2 separate regions of the Homo sapiens genome follow, and region 1 is linked to region 2. Evidence: promoter capture Hi-C in human tissues and cell types (Jung and others, 2019). All regions are on one chromosome and are shown on one strand. The core of a region is centred on a gene start or on the middle of the fragment in contact, and the rest is flanking DNA. Distances in the headings are between cores, read along the strand shown.

Region 1 (7,289 bases), core at 312-2,811, 130 kb before region 2:
TAGACGGGTTCCTTGGAAAGGATACATAGAATTACTGAGGTCTTCCAGCTGCCAACAAAGAGAAAAAGGGAGGCTTCTGTTAGGAGGGGAACCAGGCCAAATCCCCAATGCTCTGGGGGCTATCTTCTGGGGAGGTTGAGGGGCCCAGAGCTCTTGGATCCATGCACTCCCACCTTTTCACCCAGGGCCCAGGAATGGCTTTGGGAGTATGTACCTTCTCCACCCCTCATGCCCCCAGGAACCAAAGCACCCAGACATGAACCCACATTGCTAAGCAGCTGGTCCAGGTTACGGTCAGCCATTGTCTTCTTCTGCTCCTCTGGCAGCCCCTCAGTGACCCCATCCTCTTCCTCTTCATCGTCCTCCTCCTCCCCACACACATCCAGGCTGAAGTGCAGCCGGGCTAGCTTCTCCTGCATCTCCCGAACGTGCTCCAGCTGCTCAAAGGAGCATTCCTTCCCTGGAACGAAGCCCCTGTCTGAACCCTGGGAAAGAGTCCTGGAACCCTGGAACCCTGGAACCATGGTCCCAGCCATGCCCCATGGACTGGGCCCTACAGCCCTATCCACACACCCGCTGAAACCAGCCCCCAGGACTCACCGAAGGCCTGCAGCCGGCCAGAGTGGAAATCATTGAGCAGGTTCAGGAGTCCCCCCTCCATCTCATAGACATCAGTCACCTCGGTCAGGAAGGAGTGCTGCAGGGGCGTGCCTGCAGAGCCGCTTCCACCTCCAGCCAGGACTGGGCGGCACTTCTCTTTGCCTACTCTGGGTGGGGTGGACATGACCATGATCACAGGGTAGGGGGCAGTCAGGCACCTCCCGATCTTTTGTGCCATCTGCCTATGCACCAGTTTATCTGTCTATCTGCACTAACTCATCTGCCCATCTACTTACTAGCATAAATGGGTAACTTTATGGTTCCCCTTGGGCACTGGGAAGGGGTGAGGAGGCGTGAAGAGGTCAAAAAGAAGTCTTTTCTGCTAATAACACAGCCAGAGCAGTGCCTGAAAGGGGGTCCCTGGGTTCCTGTCTGAGTGCCTCACTCATTTGTTTTATGACCCTGAATGAGTCACTTATCCTCCCTAGTCTTCAGCGTATATAGAGACAGCTACTCCCTTATTGCCACCAGGGCTGTCTTACCTCCTCCCAAAATATCTTTCTGCCCCTCTTCTTTTTTTTTGTTTTTTGAGACAGAGTCTCGCTCTGTTGCCCAGGCTGGAGTGCAGTGGTGTGATCTCGGCTCACTGCAACCTCGCCTCCTGGGTTCAAGTGATTCTCTTGCCTCAGCCTCCCAAGTTGCTGGCATTATGGGCGCCTGCCACTATGCCCTGCTAATTTTTTTTACTTTTAGTAGAGTTGGGGTTTCACCGTGTTGGCCAGGCTGGTCTTGAACTCCTGACCTCAGGTCATCTGCCTGTCTTGGCCTTCCACAGTGCTAGGATTACAGGCCTGAGCCACTGCCCCTAGCCCTCTTCTTTTTTTTTAATTAAAAAAAAAATTTTTTTTTTGTTTGAGACAGAGTCTCACTGTCACACAGGCTGGAGTGCAGTGGCACAATCTCGGTTCACTGCAACCTCTGCCTTCCAGGTTCAAGTGATTCTTGTGCCTCAGCCTCCCAAGTTGCTGGGATTATAGGCACCCACCATCACGCCTGGCTAACTTTTGTATTTTTAACAGAGATGAGGTTTCACCATGTTGACCAAGCTGGTCTCAAACTTCTGACCTCAGGTGATCTGCCTGCCTCAGCGTCCCCAAGTGCTGGGATTATAGGCTGAGCCACCATGCCCAGCCAACCCTCTTCTATTTAAAAACTCTTTTAAACAAAAACAAAAATACATAGAAAACAAAGCCAAACCAATAAACCAAAAAAACTGTCTTAAAATTTCCACTGCTCTCAGGATAAAATTGAATGCCCCTGCCAGCCTGGCCCTCCTGCCTTCCCAGTTGCCTTTCCTGCTACTCTCCCCACAGCCTTGAGCTTCATGCCCCTTAGGCAAGTGGTGTGCAAAACCAGGGGGAAACACAGTGGTCTTATCTGGAGCAACTGGAGAAAGAATACATTGTATTTAGTGGGGAACAAACATGGACACATTATAAGGCAGCATGCAAACTCCCAATCATAAAAAAAATTCAACAGAGAATTCAAATTGTGCCCCCAGGTATTTCCTCACCATTTCCTGTTCCCTGATACTCCAGGGCCCCCAAACCACCTGTGGTTCCTGAAACCTTTCAGGTAATAGCTTTCTTCCATATTTATACCAGGTAAGCCTCTCAGCGTGGAACATTCACTTTCTTGCAGAGTTGCTCACTCCCTCCTCTGAGGCGAATCCTCACGCTATGTGATCCCAGTGACCCACCTGGCCTTTTTGCCACACAGTTGAGGGTAGGGACTGGGTCTGAGTGAGCTCTGAGTTCTCAGGGGTCTGCTCCAGAAAGGCATCAATTATTGCTTAGGAACTAAAGGCGGAGGCCCCCCTTGCCTTCCTCTCTACAGTGCAACCCAGAGTTGGGGTCCCTCCTCCTTTCCTTCCCTTCTGTACCCACCTCTTGAACTTGGCCCGCTGCTTGGGGGATGGCAGATGAGGAAGTCCTAGGGCCAAGGAGCCGCTGTGGCTGGTAGGCACAGGGACCCTCCGTAGTGTGCCTGGGGCCTGGGCTGGCTGGGCCAGGCAGGGCTTGGGACTCCGTTTCTTCTTTTTGTCATCCATTGGGCGCTGGCTGGGCCTCAGGCCTAGGAGGGAAGCAACCCCACAAAGATAGCCAGGGGCAAAGTTAGCCCTTCACCCAGAAATCCCTGAGAGCTGCACCAAGGAAGGGCCCTGGGACCTTCCAGCTTGTCACCTCATCTATACGGTAGGGGCAGAGCCAGATGCCAGTGTCTGCTGCTGGGATCGTGGATGTACACTTGAAGGACCTTCTAAGGCCCAACCTAATTCCCCTTCTGCCTGAAAACCTAGGCCCCTCCTGAAAGGGTGGGACCAGTCACAACTATCTTGGCGCTACTGGGGCTTCCTGTCACGGTGGCTGGGGGGCGGGGCTGGCAGAGGAAATGTAGTGGGAGACAAGACGGAGGTGAGCTGCAGAAGCCCAGCCGAAGATTAGGGATGTCTTAACTAAACCCTATTCTATTTATCAGGGGCCTAAGCAGATGCTAACAAACCCTGTCAGCATGGGAGGGGGACAAGGTGCAGGTAGGGGCGCCTGGGAAAGCCCCAGCGTGTGGGTAATTGTAGGAGAAGCCGCAGCATACAGGGCAGGGTTCATTGTGGGTTTCCCCCACATAGACACCGGCATCCCTCCACTTCCACCCACCCCCAACCGAAAATATTAGGGACTCCCTATAGGTCCCGCGGGTGTGCTTTCAGCTGCTTCATTTTTCCCAGTCGGAAAGTCCCTGCTGGGCTTCAGCTGCAGCCAGGGTGGACTGGGTGGTTGGCCGCTGGCTGCCTGGGCCTCCGACAAAGGCTGCGCCTGTGGCTGGGCTGCTCCGAGGTCCCCGGTCCAGCAGCGCCCCCCAAGCCTCCGGTCGGCTGGGGTTCCCTCCTCTGGGGGTCTCATTCCAGGCTGCTGCTACCGAGCCTAACTTCGAATTCTGGGACTGGGGGGGTTGGGGGGGTGGGTGGCGCTTAAGCATTTACACTGACACATAGCTGGCTGCCACTGACGGGGTCTGCGGGTGTGGGGAGGGGAGATAGGAGCGCATCCTCTGCCTCTCCGTGCAGCAGCTTGACCCAATTAGGGACCTGATAGAAGAACTGGAGCCGGAGCCTGTGCTCCCCAGGAGCGGCTGGGGCGACCGGGGATCTATTTCCCAAGCCCGGGCTCCAAAGCCATGTGCCAAACTCATCGCTCAGCTCCGCAGCCGCGCTCGAAGACAGAGCGTCAGACCCGCGTCATTCCGCCCCCGCCCTCACTCCCTCAGGGGGCTACTGACCTGGAGGTTTGGGGTCTCGAGTGATGCTTCGGTGCAAGTTCCCTCCGCCCTCCGCCCTCTCCTCCCGGGAACACCACCGGGTGAAAGCTAAGCTGGAGGGAGTTCATTTGCATTTAAAGAGAAAGTGACCTTCTCCTTAGCGCGGTGGGGTGAGATGGGAGGAGCATCCCCGCGTATGCTAAGCAGTTCCTCTCACTCGACCTCACCTCCCCGCCTGAACCTAGGGGACCCTGTTGGTTGTGTGATGTCTATTTTAAAAAGATTTTCCCTTTCCCGGCAGTTTCAGAGAGAAGCTACAGTTCCTTACAAAATGGTGGTGGCTTTGTCAGAAAGGGGGTGGGGCGGGGGAGAGGAGAGACAGAGTGAGTGAGTGAGAGAGAGAGAATGTAAGCACAGAAGAAGCACAAGCAGCAACAGCAGCAGCATCAGGAAGACACTTCGAGCAAAGACAGCCATCAATGGAGTGAGTCCAGTGCCCTATTGAGCACTTTACATACATTTCATCCCCATAACAACCCTTAAGGAAGATACCAGTGTCATTCCCCATTCTACTGAAAGTAAGCAACAGTCTTTTGAGGGCAAAACCCCTCTCTCTACAATGCCAGACAGTTTTCTCTGGTAAGTGGTGGGGGCTGTATTTTGCCGCAGATGAAGTGACAGGAGTCCTCCCCACCCCCCAGGCCTAGGAGACAGGTGTGGGGAGCACCAGGTCATAAGGTAGACCACGCGATTCCCTGGCACCTGACTCCAGTCCTCAGGGAAACCTGAGCACCTGATGGAGGCTGACCCAGTGTGACTGCTGCTGCCTGCAGCCAGATCAATGGGGGCAGCTATTTAAAGCCCTGGCAGAGGCTCCTGGCGCAGGTCCCCAGAACAGCATCTGATACAACAGGAGAGAGGCTCATGTTTGGCCAGGCGGCTCAGCAGGCTCAAGTGAGCTGGCCCAGGGCAGTGCACACAGCCACCCAGCCCACCTTCCCCATCCCCGGGCAGGAGTGGCTTCCTGGGGTTGGGCCTCTTGGCTGATGTGGGGAGCCATGGGCACTGCTCCTGAGGGCACCTGCTCAGGGCTTCTTCCTGGGTACTTCCAACACTCAGAACACTCCACAAGGGTAAAGAGTAATTCCGAACTTTTTCAATAACCAGGGGCCCAGACTGGGGACAACAGAAATCCCTCTCCTTCCCCACCGGAGCTGCTAGAGTAGACAGTGGTAATGCTGCTGACAGAGGGAGCACCCCTGTGGTTCCCATCCTCAGCTGCTTCACTGGGGGGTCAGAAACCTCATTATTCTCAGAGCTGCTTTGCTTGGAATCTCCAAGAGTTGGGGCGGCACCCCCCCCACACCCTCCAGAGGATCTGCGACTAGAAATAACATGGCCAGCATGGAAAACATGTATCAGGACCCAGCTAGAAGGGTCAGAGGCTCTGCTGGGACTGTCACAGTCATTGTGGGCACATCTATTTGTGGAGGCCTGGAGGGAAGGGCAGGTGGGTTGTCTCTGCCATTTCCTGGGCATTCAGCACATATCATCCTTTGTGCCTGACCAACCCAGGACCCAGAGAGAACAGGGTGCTGGGTGAGGCCACCAGCAGCATGTCTCCCATATAGGAGTCCCATGCTTGAGGTGGGTAAATGGGGGGTGTAAAAACTGAACAGAGAATGTGCTCTCCTTAAGGAATGCATACAATTAGAGGCCCCTGTGAATTCCCTTGGGCAGGCCAGGGCTATAGGAGCCTACCCACAGCTCAGACCCAAATAGCAGTGATGAGTGTCCACCCCTCTTAACCTGGGCCTCAAATGGCCTATGCCTGGCTCCATGCCTTTTGCCTTACTGCTGGAGCCTATCAATTTCCTATTGAAACACCTTCAGTTGCCCCCCCTGCCCTCTGGATCTAGCCCACATTCCTTAACCTGGTACCCAGACTCTGGGCCCAGCCTCACCCCCTCTCCCAGTCCCATGGACCTGCTTCCCAGCTGTACCATTTAATCACTAAATGACGTTCATCTTCTACCTGCCCTGTGGTTCAGAAGGCCATTCCAGGTATCACCCCCTCACCTTGCTGAAGGGGGCAGGGGCCTCCTCTCTGCTCTCAGCACCATTGACCTGTCTATAGCTAAAAGTACCTTTTCCCTTCACTAGCCTGTGAGCCCCCAGGTCAGGGAAAACTTTTTTGTGTGTGTGTGATCCTCTCTGAGGCAAGGGTCTTGCCAACTTTGCCAAGGGCTCCACTCAGGCAGCTCAAGTGAATATGCCAGCATCCTGAGGCTGTGGCGACTGCTCAAAGACACTGTGGAATATGTAAGATACCAGGGAACCACCATGGGCGCTCTGCAGCAGACCTGAACAAGTCAGTGATGATGGAAGGGGCTGAATGGATCAGATCCAGAAACAAAGGAATACACAGGTCAGGAGAGAAACAAGTAAGGCAACAGACTCTTTATTTAATGTGGTTTAAAATACATCAAAATCAAGTCCCTGGCTGTTGTGAATACCCAAAGGAGACAAAAAAGCTGCCAGTGCAGCTTCAAACAAGTCTGAGTGGCCGGGCTGGGCCATAAGGAAAGCAGTTACAGGGACAGAAGGCAGCTCCCTTCCCCCAGGAAGGGCAAGAGGAGCAGGTGCCTGGCTGTCCCTGGGGTGACCACCTCTGTGCTGTGCAAGGCGGAAAGGCTGGGGCAGCAGCTGGAGAATCAGCTCAGCAGGCCTTGGCCCTCCCCCGTGGACACCAGGCAGCTCCACTGGCCTCCGGGTCAGCCCTCAGGGCCACCGTGATGGGGTGGAGGAGGGTTAAATAACCATCTTTACAGAAATAACAGTCTCCTACAGAAAGTGCCTGAGCTCAGCCCATGGTCCGATAACCTCATGGAAAACAAACAACAAATAAAAAAAAAAAGTGCTGCTGACACCTCTCAGAATCTGGTGGACATGAAGCTCTCAGCTGGACAAGGCCCTGAAAACAATTTACTATTAGCAGAGCCATGCGCTCTTGAGCTTCACCTGCTGTGGTCCCCTGGAGGAAAAGCTAGCAATCTAAGAAACCAACACAGATCTTGGTCCTAAAACTGAGGTCACAAGTGTGGGACCCACCCAGGTGAGGAAGACACTGGCCTTCACTCATGGATAGGCACCTCCCCTGCATCTGGCCCAGGACCTGGGCTACTTTGGAAAGCAGAAGCAGAGCAGCTGTAGTGATTGGTTGATTTGGTCAATGAAGAGAAGAAAAAGGTAGGGAACCTCATCTGCAGACTGGCCTGAAGGTCTAGACATGGATGGAGCTGTGAGCAAAGGCTGCACCTTGCCTGGGGCCCACATTCCTGACCTGGGAAACCCAGCTGGGGCCACCTGCTCAC
Region 2 (6,825 bases), core at 3,576-6,075:
ACACCCACACAGAGACATGCAACCATGCAGCTGTTTGCTGGCACACAGACTCAGGGAGATACCAAGAGATTACACAAACACTGAGATACACAAAGAGAGACACAGAGAAAGGGAAAGAACCAGAGGGAGGGGAAAGGAAGAGCGAGGGAGACAAAGCCCATACATTCCCTCTTGGGAATGTTCCTTTGGGATATATATGCAGATCTGAGTCCCATTCTGACCTCCCCCATAGTGAGAGCTGGGTAAATTATGCCACCTCAGTTTCGTCTGCAAAAAAAGGCTAATTATCCTGACCTCAGTGAGTGAGTGTCATCTGACAATGTGAGAGGATGTTGCTGCCTGCCTCCGATCTTCCAGATATGGAGGCCTGGTGAGCCAGCTACGGTCAGGGCAGAGGTCAGGGGCCAGGTGCTGGGCAGTGAGGGGTGAAGTGAGGGGTACTCACGGATAGCAGAGGAACAGGAGGTTCAGGAAGGAGTAGGTCCTGAAGAGGTGGATGAGGGATCGGCACAGACTCCAGCCTGTTGCCGTGAGAACGGTGAAGCGAGTGAGGAACAGCAGGATGGAGCGAAAGAGGGAGACCTTCCCCCTCTGAGAGGCCTGGGTCGGGGCAAGATAGGACGGGATGGGGCCTTGGATGGAGGCCGAAGGGGCTGTGCCCAAATCCCACCCAGCATGACCTGTGATCCCACCCAGGGAGAGGTGGCACAGCAGGCTGGGCAGAACCTGGCAAGGTAAATCCTTCTCTTTGATGCCCAGTAAACTCCAAGATGGGATGTAACTAATGTTCTTCAACCAAGTCCAAAGGGAGCCCCAAGGAAATACCCTAAGGCTGAAGGGCTGGGCATGTTTCCTTGGCATCCCCAGGGGAAAAGGGGAATCCCAAAGTCCCTGGCCAGCCTCTAGGACCCAATCACCTCCTTCACGATGGACCCAATGAAGCGGCGGCCCAGAACGATGGTGGTCACCATCAGCAAGTTGAAGTCGATCAGATGGAAGTTCTGTCAGGGGGCAGAGGCCTGGGGGTCATGTGGGCCCCTTGCCCATATGCAGGCTTTTTTCATACCCACCTCCCGCTGCCCATTTCTTTCCACAGAGACTGTCCTCATTCTCTGACCTTCATCGGCCTCCAGCTGAGTCAGGCCAGGAAATTACCTACAGGAGTAGGACAGGACCCCGAGAAGGGAAGTGGGACAGTCCCTGGGGATAAGAGAGTGGTATGTGAGCCCTCTTGCTCTGCTCACACATGCCCCTGTCCCTATACTGTGTCTGCACTGAAGTCTTTCCTCCCCTTGAAGCACTCATGTATCCCTGTGGTTCATCTCCACTACTGGATTAAGACTCTCAGCTCCTGGCCGGGCGCGGTGGCTCACGCCTGTAATCCCAGCACTTTGGGAGGCTGAGGCGAGTGGATCATTTGAGGTCAGGAGTTCGAGACTAGCCTGACCAACATGGTGAAACCCTGTCTCCACTAAAAATACAAAATTAGCCGGACATGGCGGCACACACCTGTAATCCCAGCTACTCGGGAGACTGAGGCAGGAGAATCGCTTGAAACTGGAAGGCGGAGGTTGCAGTGAGCTAAGATTGCGCCATTCCACTCCAGCCTGGGCAACAACAGCGAAACTCCGTCTCAAAAAAAAAAAAAAAAAAAAAAAAAGAAGAAAAGAAAAGAAAAGGACTCTGAGCTCCTTTAGGCAAAATCTTTGTCAGATTCATCTCCCATACACTTACAGTGCCCAATGTGCTACTAAACACACTAGGAGTATTCAGTGAATCATCAGTTTCCTGTTCCTTCAGCACCTTCCATGTTCAGCATGGAGCCAAGTGCACAGTGGTGCTTAGTAGGATATGCTAAACTGAAACCAAAAGAAACACACACACACATACACACACACGCACACACACACACACACACACACACCCTTGTTGGGTACCTACCAGGGAGGTGTGGGAGGGTGGGTGGGAAGGTGGATACCACCACACTGTCTTGTAGATGTTGATGTAGTGGACGAAGAGTGCTATGAGCTGGCAGAAGAAGAGCTGCAACTCAAACAGAATGCTGGCCTGGACTGGCAGCTCGGGGATCTTGCAGTGCTGTAGAGGCACAACAGTTTGGGTGGCCAGAGGAGGGCTGGAGAGGCCTGTTCCAGAACTGCTCCTGACAGTGGGGAGGGAACAACATCAGCAGCTGACCTGAGAATCCTACCAGGAAGGGCTTCTGAGGCAAAGGATTGTGGGATAAGATCAGAAAAGCAGCTCATAGCAAGGACGGGGTCTTCCTAATCCTGCTTGTCAGACAAAGGAACCCGACAAAGCCTTTTCCTATCCCTAATCTTATTCAGGTCTTCCAACACCCCCTAGGAGAGAAAGAATTATTAGGTCCATCTTACAGATGAGGAAAAGGAGGCCCAGAGAAGGGAGGCAACTTGTCCAAGCCATCAGCAAATCTGGAGCAGAACTGTAATTAGAATCCAGGCCTTTGGATTTATTCTACCATGTCCCACTGCATCTGTCCAAGTGATCACCCTCAACTGAGCTCCCTCTGGATCTTTTCTGCTGCTTACTCCCCTCTAAGCCCCCACTGGCATCTAGGATTTCACATCTTAGAATCCAGTCAGAGAGAGCCCTGTCCACATCGTCCCTGTGAGGCCACAGTGAGGGGTGAGACAGAGAGGTGGTTTACCTGGTGCGGGAACGAACACTGGTCACCGATGCACTGGAAGTGTGGCTTCCACTAGAGCCCCCCGAGGATCCCGGCTCACAGAGCGGATTTCGACAGTAAGATGTCCTGTTGGGACCTCTTCGTCCTCCTGTGGGGCTCAACATAAAATAGAGCCTCAAGCCAGGGGGCATATATCAAGGATAACAGCAATGATACCAGCTGCCAGTCACCTAGTATCTCACTTTATCATTTAATCCTCACTGAGACCTATGATCTGGCCCCTTCTTACATCTTCAGCTTCATCCCCTATCATTCTCTACCTCACACCCACCCTCTACCACCCGCCCCATGCTCTAAACATCTTGATCTTTCTTTCCTCAGCAAGCCAAGCTCATTGCTACCTCTAGCACTTATAATATCCTATCTGGAAAGCCTTTCCCGGACTGCCATTTCTGAAGTTTTGAAGTAACTCCCCATCACTCTCTCTCCAATTTCTATTCTTTTTTTCCACCAGAATTCACTCTCTGAAATTATCTTACTCATTTGTTAATATGCTTATTGCTTGTCTGTCCTATTACAATGAAAGGTCAATGAGGTCAGTTACCTTATCTTTTTCACTGCTATATCCCCTACCTCAGTGCCCAGCAAGTATATGTTGATGAGTGAATGAACCCAGCAAGGTAGGTTTTTCACACATTAGGAAACTCAGCTTACACTATGTCACAGTATCGTGGCTGGGTCGTGTGCTCTCAACTCTGGTACACATTGGGCCCCATTCAGACATAAGTTTCTGGAGGCCTATAACTCTGGGTAACTTTGGGACAGCTTTTTCATCCAGGGCCCCATGATTCAGCTCAAAGGGCATTCTGGGATCTCATGGGCAGGACCCAGGGCCTAAATAAAGGGTCAAGGATATGGCTGGGAGAATCCTGTGGCTGTGGACTGAAAAATTGGACCTACTAGGCTGAGCAGTCTAGCCCAAGCTCCCACGCACCACTTCGCACAAAAGTTCTGCACAAAGCTCCTAAGCACCTAAAAAAGTCACAACCTGACTGGGTGTGGTGGCTCACGACTGTAATCTCAGCAATTTGTGAGGCCGAGGCGGGAGGATCGCTTGAGACCAGGAGTTGGAGACCAGCCTGGGCAACATGGCGAAACCCGGTCTCTATTAAAAAATATATATACATACATATACATATTTTTAAAAAGTTATAACCTGTTCATACCTCTTCACAGTAACACAGCAGCCTCCATTCACATACACCCCACGCCGTAGCATCTCAGCTCGGAAGCGTTTCCCACACTTCGGAGCCAATTTTGGGCTTGGATGTATGCCCAAAATTATAAACCTCCACAAGTCTCTAAAAAGTACCTGGCGAAGAGCTCTGCCCTCCATAAACCCCCAGACCAGAAGCTCTGTTCATACGCTGTTATACTTGGCTTAGAAAATCCCACACAAACACCCTTAGTCCAGTCCAGAAGCTCTGCCCACACCCACTCTCCTCTCTTTAGAAGCTCTGCACCCACATAAAGCCCCTCAGCCCAGAAGCTCCGCCTACACACAACTGTCAGCCCAGAAACCCCGCCCACAAGCCAATAAAAGCCCTCTCAGCCCAGAAGCCCCACTCCAGAATGGGCTCCCTCAGTCGGAAGTCTCCCCGCTCCACCGCCCCCAGTGTAACCCCTCCAACCCAGAAACGCCGACTGCACTAGCGCCCCCTGCCCAGAATCTCCACCCTTAGCGCTGAAGCCACGCCCACTGGTAAGTCCCGCCCCCCTTTCTAGCCCCGACGAGCTGGTCCTCACGAAAGCCCAAGCCCCCACAGGGCTTCGTCTTAGAAGCCCCGCCCACCGTCCAATGTCCCGCCCCCACAACAGAGGCCCCACCCCGCAAAACGACAGGAGGGGGCGGGATCCCGTCTGCGCTCGCATCCCCTCCCCCTCCCGTCACCGGGCTCCTGTCCGCGTGGAGCAGCAATTAGCAGCCTGGCCATCCTAACCCGTGCGCCCGCTCGTTGCCAGGCCGAGCCTGAGCCGCTCTGCTCACCCATCTCCTCCCCCCGGTGCTCTCCGCTTCGCCGCCGCAGCTCCTGCGGGCAATATGTCGGAGGCGACGGCGGCCGGGAGAGGACTAACCGCCGCAGCCCAGTCCCGGGTATCAGCCGCGCGCTCCCGCCGCGCCGCTACATTTGCATACAAGGCGGGCTGGAAGCTGGCGCGCGCTTCTTAAAGGGGCCGCCCGGACGGAGGCGGTGCCTGCGCGCTCTTTGTCTCTCGGTCCCCCACGCCCTTCCTGCAGCTGCTGGTGAAGAGACTCAAGAGGGAGGGGAACGGAACCCACCTCCTGCTCTTCCCGTGCGTGTCTTCTCTCAGCATCTCCTGGACCGGGGCGGCGGCGACCGGAGGAGGGTGCGGAGCCGCCTCTCCGCTCCCCTAGGGGTGGACCATATCCCTGACCGGTCCGCAGGCACCTCCAGCCCAGCCCCACGTTGCGCTTCATCCTTCTCTTAGGCCTCACTGCGCTTTAGTCCACCCCAGTCAAAATCCAGGAGTCATTTCCTCCCTCCCTCGGCCCCCACATCCGATCTTTGCCTTAGTCTTTGTGAGCCTAAGTCCTAAATATTTCTCACATTTGACGTTACTCACCGTTCTCATTGTCAACACCGTGGTTCAGATCCTGACTGCCATTTCCCAGCCTTGCAATCTTGTTTTTTTATGCTTTACGATGAGGCTGCTGATGGTCACCGTGTAGGTTTCGGTGAGGGTTAAATGAAATAGAGCATGCAGAACTGAGTCTGTTTTAGTATTAGCCATCACGATGTTTGGAGAAGCATTGACTAAATGAGCTACATTTATTGTCATTAGGATTCTTCCCTCACAAGACCTACAAGCAGTTTTAGTCATCTTGTAGCTCCATTGCTTAGCACAGTGCTTGGCACTTAATAGCAGTATTCAATTAATTGAATGAATTAGTAGATATTTCATTAATAGTCATAGAGCTTACAGTCAAGTGGGAGGAGATAGACATGAACAAAATTGGTAAATTCTGTAGTATGTTAGATGGGAATGGTGTGAAGGAAAAACAGGAAAGGGGGATGGGGTTGCAGTTTTAAATAGGGCAGGCAGAGCAGGCTTCAGAGTTGACTTGAGTAAACACATGAAGGAAATGAGTGAGTCAGTGGTGCAGATTTCTGGAGAAAGGGGGCATTTCAGGCAGAGGGAATAGTTAGTGCAAGGTCCCTCAGGCAGGAGGGTGTATTTATTTTATTATTTTGTTTTTTGAGGGGATGGAGTCTCTGTTGCCCAGGCTGGAGAGCAGTGGCTCGATCTCGGCTCACTGCAACCTCCACCTGCTGGGTGCAAGCGATTCTCCTGCCTCAGCCTCCCAACAAGCTGAAATTACAGGCGTGCACCACCATGCCCGGCTAATTTTTGTTTTTGTTTTGTTTTGTTTTTTTGAGACTGGAGTCTCCCTTTCTGTTGCCCAGGCTGGAGTGCAGTGGTACGATCTCGGCTCACTGCAACCTCCGCTTCCCGGGTTCAAGCGATTCTCCTGTCTCAGCCTCCCAAGTAGCTGGGATTACAGGCACCCGCCAGCATGCCCGGCTAATTTTTCCATTTTTAGGAGAGGCGGGGTTTCACCATGTTGGCCAGGCTGGTCTCAAACTCCTGACCTCAAATCATCCACCCACCTCGACCTCCCAAAATGCTGGGATTACAGGTGTGCACCACCACGCCTGGTCTAATTTTTGTTTTTTTGTTTGTTTGTTTTTTTGAGACGGAGTCTCACTCTGTCCCCAGGCTGGAGTGCAGTGGTGTGATCTCGGGTCACTGCAACCTCCACCTCCCGGTTTCAAGTGATTCTCCTGCGTCAGCCTCCCAAGTAGCTGGGACTACAGGTGTGTGCCACCACACTTTGCTAATTTTTTGTATTTTTAGTAGAGATGGGGTTTCACCATGTTAGCCAGAATGGTCTCAATCTCCTGACCTCATGATCCGCCTGCCTTGGCCTCCCAAAGTGCTGGGATTACAGGCACGTGCCACCACCACCGGCTAATTTTTGTACTTTTTAGTAGAGACGGGGTTTTACCTTGTTGGCCAAGCTGATCTTGAACTCCTGACCTCAAGTGACCTGCCAGTCTCGGTCTCCCAAAGTGCTG

Evidence for each region. Contacts are between HindIII fragments. The study calls those that stand out against the background at their distance.
Region 1: a contact is called between a fragment that was not itself captured here and the fragment with the promoter of TMEM39B in region 2, in 1 of the 25 tissues and cell types used here (spleen).

What each region holds. Positions count from the first base shown.
Region 1 is chr1:32,197,357-32,204,645 of GRCh38, reverse strand. It overlaps CCDC28B (coiled-coil domain containing 28B), which reads right to left and starts at 4,051. Exons shown (of 6, transcript NM_024296.5): 1 at 3,937-4,051; 2 at 2,547-2,733; 3 at 601-767; 4 at 267-460; 5 at 26-48. The coding sequence starts at 2,710. It overlaps TXLNA (taxilin alpha), which reads right to left. Exons shown (of 11, transcript NM_175852.4): 11 at 6,361-7,289. RefSeq lists enhancers at 2,674-2,723, 2,685-3,205, 3,074-3,293, 3,206-3,725, 3,984-4,063 and 2 more. The HindIII fragment of the contact is 5,077 bases long and covers 1-4,099 here.
Region 2 is chr1:32,070,939-32,077,763 of GRCh38, reverse strand. It overlaps TMEM39B (transmembrane protein 39B), which reads right to left and starts at 4,825. Exons shown (of 9, transcript NM_018056.4): 1 at 4,713-4,825; 2 at 2,687-2,813; 3 at 1,942-2,161; 4 at 918-1,001; 5 at 446-600. The coding sequence starts at 4,716. RefSeq lists an enhancer at 4,821-5,426. The HindIII fragment of the contact is 13,852 bases long and covers 1-6,825 here.